Regions from separate parts of the Homo sapiens genome. Here all the other regions are linked to region 2. The links are contacts of gene promoters, found by promoter capture Hi-C in human tissues and cell types (Jung and others, 2019). All regions are on one chromosome and are shown on one strand. Each heading gives the region's core, a stretch centred on a gene start or on the middle of the fragment in contact. The rest is flanking DNA. Distances are from core to core; before and after follow the strand shown. Region 1 holds the start of UPF1 (UPF1 RNA helicase and ATPase). Region 2 holds the start of JUND (JunD proto-oncogene, AP-1 transcription factor subunit). Region 3 holds the start of MAP1S (microtubule associated protein 1S).

What was found. The method cuts DNA at HindIII sites, captures the fragments that hold promoters and counts their contacts. A contact is called where the count stands out against the background at its distance.
Region 1: the fragment with the promoter of UPF1 here is called in contact with the fragment with the promoter of JUND in region 2 in 1 of the 25 tissues and cell types used here (dorsolateral prefrontal cortex).
Region 3: the fragment with the promoter of MAP1S here is called in contact with the fragment with the promoter of JUND in region 2 in 2 of the 25 tissues and cell types used here (dorsolateral prefrontal cortex and hippocampus).

What each region holds. Positions count from the first base shown.
Region 1 is chr19:18,830,574-18,833,728 of GRCh38, forward strand. It overlaps UPF1 (UPF1 RNA helicase and ATPase), which reads left to right and starts at 1,386. Exons shown (of 24, transcript NM_002911.4): 1 at 1,386-1,867. The coding sequence starts at 1,637. RefSeq lists silencers at 1,190-1,449, 1,570-1,669, 1,820-1,909, 1,920-1,999. The HindIII fragment of the contact is 23,837 bases long and covers 1-3,155 here.
Region 2 is chr19:18,279,745-18,283,039 of GRCh38, forward strand. It overlaps JUND (JunD proto-oncogene, AP-1 transcription factor subunit), which reads right to left and starts at 1,878. Exons shown (of 1, transcript NM_005354.6): 1 at 1-1,878. The coding sequence starts at 1,740. The coding sequence ends at 697. MIR3188 (microRNA 3188) reads left to right here and starts at 2,333; the gene lies at 2,333-2,417. LOC124904652 (a long non-coding RNA gene) reads left to right here and starts at 2,348. Exons shown (of 2, transcript XR_007067154.1): 1 at 2,348-3,295. RefSeq lists silencers at 1-36, 467-776, 1,357-2,356 and an enhancer at 1,012-1,863. The HindIII fragment of the contact is 27,320 bases long and covers 1-3,295 here.
Region 3 is chr19:17,717,584-17,720,938 of GRCh38, forward strand. MAP1S (microtubule associated protein 1S) reads left to right here and starts at 1,897. Exons shown (of 7, transcript NM_018174.6): 1 at 1,897-2,037; 2 at 3,353-3,355. The coding sequence starts at 1,920. RefSeq lists enhancers at 1-428, 2,479-2,548, 2,939-3,088 and a silencer at 2,079-2,128. The HindIII fragment of the contact is 7,935 bases long and covers 1-2,279 here.

The DNA of each region.
Region 1 (3,155 bases), core at 136-2,635, 550 kb after region 2:
TCAAACTCCTGAGCTCAAGTGATTCTCTTGCCTCTACCTCCTAAAGTGCTGGGATTTCAGGAAAGAGCCACCTTGCCCAGGCTTCCTATGCCACCTTAATGGCAACAGAAACCCTAGGCTCAGAGAGGTTAAGTCACTTGTATAATTTCACACAGCTGGTAAGTGGTCAGGTCTAGAGTCCACCACAGACCATGTGCTTCCAGTTGTTTTGCTGTATACGTCCACTAAATAATAATCATAGCAAAAATAGTAATGGTATAATAACAGTGGCAGAGGCATCAGGAACAGCAGCAACCATCATTTCCAAGTGCCAGGCCCAGTACGTAAGACTATCCCCATTCATTTATTTTTACTTATTTTTGAGACAGGGTCTCGCTCTGTCACCCAGGCTGGAGTGCAGTGGTGCAATCTCGGCTTACTGCAGCCTCAACTTCCCAGGGTCAAGCGATCCTCCCACCTCAGCCTCCCTAGTAGCTGGGACTACAGGTGCGAACCACCACGCTTAGCTAATTTTTTTTTTTTTTTTTGAGACAGAGTCTCACTCTGTTGCCCAGGCTGGTGTGCAGTGGCACAATCTTGGCTCACTGCAACCTCCGCCTCCTGGGTTCAAGCGATTCTCCTGCCTCAGCCTCCTGAGTAGCTGGGACTACAGGCTCGTGCCACCACGCCTGGCTAATTTTTTGTATTTTTAGTGGAGACGGGGTTTCACCATGTTAGCCAGGATGGTCTCGATCTCCTGACGTCATGATCCACCCGCCTCGGCCTCCCAAAGTGCTGGGATTACAGGCGTGAGCCACCGCGCTCGGCCTAATTTTTATATTTTTTGTAGAGATGGAGTCTCACTCTGTCTCCCAGGCTGGTCTCGAACTCCTGAGTTCAAGCAGTTCTCCCGCCTCAGCCTCTGAGTGTTGGGATTACAGGTGTGACCACCGCGCCGAGCCCCACTCCCTTTTTAAACCAATGCACAGGGAGCATCTACTATGTGCGAGGCACCCTCCATTTTACAGATGGGGAAACTGAGTTCCAAGCAGCTTTTGCCAGGAGTGGGAGCGCACCGTCCCTGCCCAGTCTCTCCAGTTGGGCGTTCCGAGACCACCTATGTAGGGTATTCGGCTAGCGCTCAATTAAACCGAAACACCGTCGCAGCGACCACAGGTGCAGACCACCAAGTCCACACCGCCAGCCGCCCGGGCGTCCCCAATTAGCAGTTGGGGCGGGACCAAGTCCTCGAGCTGCCGCCGCAGCGGCGGTTGAAAGCCCCACCCCCTGCGCGTGCGCGGTGCGCGTCCCGTCTTCCTGCTGGGCACCAGGCGCCCGCGAAGAGCGCGCGCGCTTCCGCCGGCGTCGGGCTCGCGCACGCGCACGGCGACGGCGGCGGTGGCGGCAGTTCCTGCTCTAGGCTGCGAGCGGCTGGCGGCTTCGAGGGGAGCTGAGGCGCGGAGGGGCTCGGCGGCAGCGGCGGCGGCTCGGCACTGTTACCTCTCGGTCCGGCTGGCGCCGGGGCGCGCGGTTTGGTCCTTTCCGGGCGCGCGGGGGCGACAGCGGCAGCGACCCGAGGCCTGCGGCCTAGGCCTCAGCGCGGCGGCGGGCTCGAGTGCAGCGCGGAACCGGCCCGAGGGCCCTACCCGGAGGCACCATGAGCGTGGAGGCGTACGGGCCCAGCTCGCAGACTCTCACTTTCCTGGACACGGAGGAGGCCGAGCTGCTTGGCGCCGACACACAGGGCTCCGAGTTCGAGTTCACCGACTTTACTCTTCCTAGCCAGACGCAGACGCCCCCCGGCGGCCCCGGCGGCCCGGGCGGTGGCGGCGCGGGAGGCCCGGGCGGCGCGGGCGCGGGCGCTGCGGCGGGACAGCTCGACGCGCAGGTGAGCGGCACATGGCGGTGCCGGAAGCCCGGGCCCGGCCTCGGCGCCTGAGACCTGCCCCGAACTCGCCTCGGGCCCGGCCTGTGTTTGGCCGGAGTCCCCCATCGCGGCCGGGCCTGGGGCGATCTGCCCCGGGTCCCCTACTCTGGCTCGGCCTGAGCTTACCTGCCCCAGGTCCTGCAATCTGCCCGGGCCTGGCCTGATCTGCCCCGGGTCCCCCGCTCCGGCCGCGACCTGGCTGAGTTCCTTCGGCCCCCAACTCCTGGGCCGGGCAGACTTGCCTCGAGTCCTCCACTTCGTTCGGGACCGAGCTAACCTGACCCTGTTCCTTTACGCCAGCTGGGTTTGCTCCCCCTCCTGGGCCCGGGCTGACCTGCCTTGTGTCCCACAATCAGTCTGGCCTGGAGTAACCTGCCCCCTGACTTATCTGAGTTCTTCCATTCCATCCGGGCTAGGGTGACCTGCCCTGGTCCCTCTTTCGCAGGTCTCGGTATTCTGCCTCGAGTTCTCCTACGACCTGGGCCGGGTCTTGCTCAGGCCGGAGCTTGAGTGACTTCCCTCAGTCCCTTTCCGGGAGTATCCAGGGTGACCTGCCCTAATCCTGTCTCTGGCCTGGTCCGGGGGTCCTGCCCGGTCTCCCCATTGGTGGGTCTGGCCGCCTGTCCCACCTCCCATCTGTGGTCGCAGCCATCTGGGCACCCCACCTTTCACAGTCACGGAGCGTAGGTTCGACTTTCCCCATGCATAGGGGCGCTGGCCAGCGGAAGGTTGAGGCAGAGAAGAATTTTTGCCTCCCATGGAGGAGCACATATTGGCTGGCTATTAAGATCATTCAGGAAGCAGGTTGTATTTTGTTTTTTCTTGCATCGCCTGTTGCTGAAACCGACCTGTTACATAACTTCACAACTCTTGCCTTGGAAAAGTTGGGTTTGAGTTTTGTTCTTCCAATAAGACAGCAATAATGGCTTTACATAAACGAGTCTGCCACGTTGGAAACTTATTTTTAATGATGTGGATGTTTAGAGAAGGTTACTTAGGTATTTTAAATGGGGGCTTGGGTTGGGAGAAGTATCGGGCATGCATTTCCTGGTCCTGGGCGCTGCTTGCCTGGGGTGGGAGAGGGGCTGGGGGGGTGGCGCGTGTTGCACCGGGGTCCTGGGGAATGTCCTCATCACCCTCTGGATTTCAGGTTGCTTTCACCTTAGGCTTGCTTTGTGCCTGACCTCTCGCTCAGGTTTGTTTTCCTGAATGCTCCGACAGGAAGAAGCTCCGAGGCTTACCTTGGCAC
Region 2 (3,295 bases), core at 628-3,127:
GGCGGAGAGCCGAGCTGGCGTAACGAGACTTTACTGAAAACAGAAAACCGGGCGAACCAAGGATTACAAACAGGAATGTGGACTCGTAGCAAAACAAAACAAAACAGAACAAAAAAGGGAGGGGGGACCGGTCGAAAGAACCGAAGGGGGGAGCGAGATCGAGGAAAGGGGCGGAGAATTTTTTTTTCTTCTTCCCATTTCTTTAAAAAACCAACACAAGAAAACACACACACACACAACCAACGTTTGTTCCCGAGTAGAAACATAAATAGGGCAGAATCGAACACTCTGTTCTTCTCTCTTCCAAAGAAAAAAAAAAAAAAGTAAAAGTAAAGGAAAGGCAGGGTTTGAGGCTGCGCCCCCTCGGAGCCCCCTTCCGCGGCGCGGTGTACAAAGGGGCAGCCGAGACGCGCGGGTTTGTGCAACACGGGGCGGCCGCGCGGGGGAAAGAGGCAGCGCGAGGGCGGGGGGGTCATGCGCTCGCCCCCCCGGGAGCAGGGGGTCCAGCTTGTCGAGTCCTGGGCACCCTCGGGGGGGGGGAATCCCCGGGGGCCGCGCCCTCTCTGAGTTCCTGGGCACACTCGGGGAGGGGGGGTCCCCAGGGCCGCACCCTCTCCAAGTCCGGGGCGCCCACGACACCCCCCCGCGAGCCCGCCCCTTGGGGAGGGTGGCCGCGCATGCGCCCCGCGCGCGGACTCAGTACGCGGGCACCTGGTGCTGGGGCAGCAGCTGGCAGCCGCTGTTGACGTGGCTGAGGACTTTCTGCTTGAGCTGCGCCACCTGCTCGCGCAGCAGGCTCGCCGTGGACGCCAGCTCCGTGTTCTGACTCTTGAGGGTCTTCACTTTCTCTTCCAGGCGCGAGATGCGCTCCAGCTTGCGCTTGCGGCACTTGGAGGCGGCGATGCGGTTGCGCAGCCGCTTGCGCTCCGCCTTGATGCGCTCCTGCGTGTCCATGTCGATGGGCGACAACGGCGGGCTCTCGCCGAAGCTCGGCACGTCGGGCACCGTCTGTGGCTCGTCCTTGAGCGCAGCCAGGCGCGGCGGCCCCAACGCGCCTGGGGGTGGCGGCGGCGGGAAGGGCACAGGTTCGGCAGCGAAGGCGACCGTCGCGGCGCCCCCCGCGCCCCCGGCGCCGCCCGCGTAGCTGCTCAGGTTCGCGTAGACAGGCGCTTCGGGCGCGGCCGCCGCCGGGGCCAGCTCGCCGGGGGGCGCGGAGCCCGTGGCCGTGCCCGAGGGCCCCCCGGCGGCGGCGGCGGCGGCGGCAGCGGCCGCGCCCGCGCCGAGCTGGTTCTGCTTGTGTAAATCCTCCAGGGCCTTGACGAAGCCCTCGGCGAACTCCTGCTCCTCGCTGGCCGCCACCTTGGGGTAGAGGAACTGTGAGCTCGTCGGCGTGGTGGTGACCAGCCCGTTGGACTGGATGATGAGGCGCTCGAGCTCGGGGGAGGCCAGCTTCAGCAGCCCCAGGTCGGGAGAGGCGAGCAGGCCGTCGGGGGGTGCCGCGCTGGGGGCGCCGTCGGCGCGCAGGGGGGTAGGAGGCGGCGCGGCCGCAGGCTTGAGCGCTGCCGCCACCTGCTCACTCAGGCTCAGCGTCAGCGCGTCCTTCTTCATCATGCTGCCGGCCGCGGCCGTCGGGGGCGCCCCGGGGAACAAGCGGCCCGGGGACGCGAAGCTGCCGCCGCTGCCACTGGCGCCGCCGCCCAGGCCGCTCAGCGCCTCATCGCCGTAGAAGGGTGTTTCCATCCTCCGCCTCCCCCGCCGCGCCGGCCCGGGGGGGAGTGGCCGCGGCCTCCCGGGGGGCCCGCGCCCCCCCGTCCGCTCGGCCCTGCGCCCGCCCCGGCCGCGGCCGCAGCGCCCGGCCCTCCACTGGCGGCGGCTCCTGCGCCGCGCCACTTGTGCGCCCTCTTATAGCCTCGGCTCGGCGCGATGAGCTCACCGCCCCCGTTCGCCATTGGGTGCGGGTGACGTCGCTCATTTGCATGGAGGGGCGGGGCCAAGCCGCCGACGCCCGCCCGGCCGCCGTTGCCCCGGCGACGCGCGGTAAACGCCACAACAGCGCGCTGCCTTGTGGGTTGACGTCATGGGGGCGGCCGCGCGCCCGGGCCGGGTCACCCCGCCCCGGGACCGCTGTGTACGACCGATCTCCCCGGCGCCGCCTCCGCCAAGGCACGTCCCGGGTGGCGTGATGGGCCCGGGCCACCAGGCGCCCGCCCGCCCCGAGGCCCCGCCCCGTGTCCGCGCGTGGGGCCCCGGCCGGGCGGGGGCGGGGGCGGGGGCGGTGCCGGCCTCCGGGGACTGGAGGGGGATGGGGTCCCGCATGGCTAAATAACTCCTTGGCGCCTCCTGCTCTGCTGTGCCGCCAGGGCCTCCCCTAGCGCGCCTTCTGGAGAGGCTTTGTGCGGATACGGGGCTGGAGGCCTGGTGGGGCTGTGTCCGGGGGCTCGCCGGGGGTGTGGGGAGGTCTGCGTTCCTCACCCTCCCTCCTTCCTTCCCTCCCTCCCTCCACCCCGCGTGTGATTGCTCAGGAAGAGACGGGAGGGGAGAGGAGGGTCGCCAGAAGTTGCTGAAAGCGCTTGGATCCTGATCATTTTCACTGAGTGCGTTCTAGAACCAGGAGTCCTACTTCCTGCCTTTACAGATGGGAAACTGGGCTCAGAGAGGTGGAGTGACCATCCCCCGAGAGTTAGCTAGGAGTCACAGCAGGGCCCGGGCTGTGACTAGGCCTGAGCTCTTGTCCACCCTTAGAACCCTAGAACCTGGGAGTCCAGGCCCCTGCGCAGCCCCTTCCTTCCGCCGCCCACGTTTTAACCCCAGGTCTGCCAGGGCTGTGATGTCCTGGGCGAGGGTGCCCAACTCCAGGGGCTGGGCTGATGAGGCAGGAATGCCGGGTATAATTATTACATGCTTGTTACCACTATCATGGCTGTTAGGGCTTAATGAGCCACTATTAAGACTGGCTGGGAAGGGGGTGTGAGGGAGGAGAGATGGACCCACCCCACCAATACTCACAAGGGATCCTTAGGACATCTGGATCTGACCTACAGCCTCTGCATGCACCCCTCCAGCTCCCCACCTCTGTCTGAATGGAGCCCACACCCTCCTTTCCCTGACCTCCTTCCCCTCACTCTCTCTGATCCTTGGCCTCCCAGTTGCAGGACTAATCGTACCTCTGGGCCTTTGCACGTGCTATGCTCTCTGCTTGGTACTCCCTTCCCCCAGTGCAAAGATGTGTCTTCAGGAAGTGCCCCACCCTCAGACTTTACTCCTTTATTGTAGCCTCTGAATCTGCCAGAATGAT
Region 3 (3,355 bases), core at 647-3,146, 560 kb before region 2:
AGACGGCACGTGGCCAGTGGCTGTTACACACTGGCCAGGGAGGAAGTTGGGCTGAACAACCTAGATAATAAACGGCAGCGGGAGGCTGATTCGCCTTCCCAGATCTTTCCCATTTCTGTTCTGCTTTTCTTTGCATACTCCCGGAGACAGGGAGCTCACTCCTGAGAAAGGAGGTTCAATGTTTCCTGGGCATGGACCACTGTCCAGAAGTTCCAAGCAAGATGATTTGTCAAGTAGTAGCCCCTATGGGTCAAAGGGCTAAAGGGGGCCAGGCGCGGCGGCTCACGCCTGTAATCCCAGCACTTTGGGAGGCCAAGGCAGGAGGATCACTTGAGGTCAGGAGTTCGAGACCAGCCTGGCCAACATGGTGAAACCCCATCTCTGCCGGGCACGGTGGCTCACGCCTGTAATCCCAGCACTTTGGGAGGCCGAGGCAGGCAGATCACGAGGTCAGGAGATCGAGACCACGGTGAAACCCCGTCTCTACTGAAAATACAAAAAATTAGCTGGGCACAGTGGCGGGCGCCTGTAGTCCCAGCTACTCGGGAGGCTGAGGCAGGAGAATGGCATGAACCTGGGAGGTGGAGCTTGCAGTGAGCCGAGATCGCGCCACTACCCTTCAGCCTGGGCGACAGAGCGAGACTCTGTCTCTAAAAGAAAAGAAAAGAAAAGAAAAGAAAAGAAAAGAAAAGAAAAGAAAAGAAAAGAAACCTCATCTCTACTAAAATACAAAAATTAGCAGGGCATGGTGGCGGACACCTATAATCCCGCTACTTGGGAGGCTGAGGCAAGGGAATCGCTTGAACCCGGGAGGCAGAGGTTGCAGTGAGCTGAGATTGTGCCATTGCACTCCAGCCTGGGCGGCAGAATGAGACTCCATCTCAAGAAAAGGAAAGGAGAGGAGAGGAGAGGGGAGAGGAGGGGAGGGGAGGGGAGGGAGAGGAAGGGAGGGGAGGGGAGGAGAGGAGAGGAGAGGGGAGAGAAGGGGAGGGGAGGGGAGAAGAGGAGAGGAGGGGAGGGGAGGAGAGGAGAAGAGAGGGGAGGAAAGGAAAGAAAAGCCTAAAGAGGATTATCTGGGGAGAGAGAGGTACCCATGTGCGCAACGCAGGCAGTCCCTTGCACAGGCTGGATCTAGAGTAAGACCCACTTGGGTTCAAACCTGCTCTACCACTTACAGGCCTGGTGACTTCATCCCTCCAAATCTCAGTTTCCTCTTCTTTCCTCTGAAAGTGACCACAGTAACTGTGCCTACTCATCTGTGCCTACATACAAGCACAAAACTCATCGCTTTGTGCTTGTATGTAATGAGCTAATGCAATAAAATACCTGGCGCACAGGAGGTGCAGAATAAGTGTTGCCCTGTTCCAGGCAGGCCCAGAGTGCTCCGGTTGTGTCCCAAACACACATGTACTTTCTTACCTCTAAAACTTTGCACCTGCTGTAAACTTCTGCCTCACCAGCTCTTGCCCCACCACCCACAAGGCAAACTCCTACACATCCCTTAAAGCCCTACCTACAAGATAGATTTCTTTTCTCTGTTCAAGCCCTGACCTAGAGAGCTGGGAGCATCCATAGGCACCGGGTTCTGATGCGGCCTACTGTCATGTGATGTGAGTTCCTGGAGGGCAGGAGTTCTGACCTACATGCAGCAGGCACGCAATCAAAGCTTGTTCAATGAAAAAAAAAATGAATGAATGGTCACTTGGGAGAGGCGGCTCCCAAGCGGACACCCAGGAGTCGGCCAACCCCTTTAACGCCCGCATCCCCTGCTCTCCACGACCTCAAAGGGCCTGTAAGTGGTCGACAAAAAGGGGCGGGGATGCGGTGGTTCCGGGCGGGGTCTTCAGCCCTTCCGGTGCGGCCCCTTTAAGAGGCGGGGCCTGCGGGGCGGGCGCCGAGAACGCCGGGGCGGCCCGAAGATGGCGGCGGTGGCTGGATCTGGGGCTGCCGCGGCTCCGAGCTCACTGCTCCTCGTGGTGGGCAGCGAGTTCGGGAGCCCGGGGCTCCTCACCTACGTCCTGGAGGAGCTCGAAAGAGGTCGGGCTGGCCTGGGGGCCCGCGGGAGCCCGGGAGGCGGGCCCGTTCGCGCGTCTGGGCCCGGGGCCGGCGGGGTGGGGCGGCGGCGGCGGCGGCGGCGGGACCCGGGCTCCGGGGCGGGGGTCGCGGGCCTGGGGCTGGGTCCCCTTCACCGTTAGGCGCACGACGCGGGCAAAGGCGGGGTGCCCGTGGGTGCCCGCGGAGAAAGTGGCATCCGGGCCTGGGCTGGGCAGGGCTGCCCCGCCCCAACTCCGGGTGAAGATAGGGGAGGGGACACGGGCCTGGGCTTGGGGACCCTTGCAGTTGGACCACGGCTCCGCTTCCCGCCTGACTGGCCTGCCCGGGGGTAGGGCCTGGGGTCGCTTTGGATCTCCAGGTCTTAGCAGCTTAGATAGAGATCTCCCGGAGGGAGAAGCAGATATGGGGGAGGCTGGGCCTGGAGCCCCGGGGCCCGCTTTCTGTTGCCTCACAAGGAGCTGCTAATTGGGGTGTGGGCGGGTGCGGCCTGCCCTGGGGATTTGGCACCTAGGGAGGTGAGTCATAGGCGCACCTGCCAGGTTCACCTGCAGCCACTTGGCTCAGTGGGACTGGCGGGCGTGATGCGCCCGTGGGTGGAGATGGGTGTTCATCCCCCATCCCTCGGAGCATCTGGACCTGGCGTTTCATTGCATGTAAAATGGGACAGGAACACGCACCTCGGTTCATGTGCTTGAGGAGTGTTTAGTGAGCACCTGCTATGCGCCAGGCCTTTGGGCAGTGGACACAGGGATATGGCCGGGATGATAGACAGGTTCAGCCCTGCCAACACAGGTCTGGTTTGGGGATGGACCCAAAGCGAGTGAGGAGATGGAACAAGCTTCCAGCTCACATGGTGTCAGGAAGGATGAGAAGGCTGCAAGGGACTGAGAGGACAGTCAGTCTTAGCACCCGAAGGTGCTGAGGGGGAAGGGCCCCCTGGCCAGTAGGAACAGGTGGGGGCGGCAGGGGGATGGACTTCCAGGCAGGGGAAACAGCTGTTGCAAGGGCGGTGAGTGGAAACGGGTCTGGCAGGGCATAGGAGCAGCGAGGAGGTGGAGATGGAGGAGGTGGAGGCTTTGTTGCTGATGAATCTTGTGTGTAAAATGATGAGGTGTGCTCTGGGTCCCCTGGCTCAGCTGCAGCGAGACCTGAAGGTGTTGGGTACTTCTGAGTCTCCAAGCTGTGAGTGAAGGGAGGAGGCTGGGGCGCTCCCCACCCACGGGGTGCTAATTATTGAAATATTCTGGGAGCTGGGGGGCCCGGCTGAACTCCCGCCTTGATCCCTCCTTCCCACCAGGCA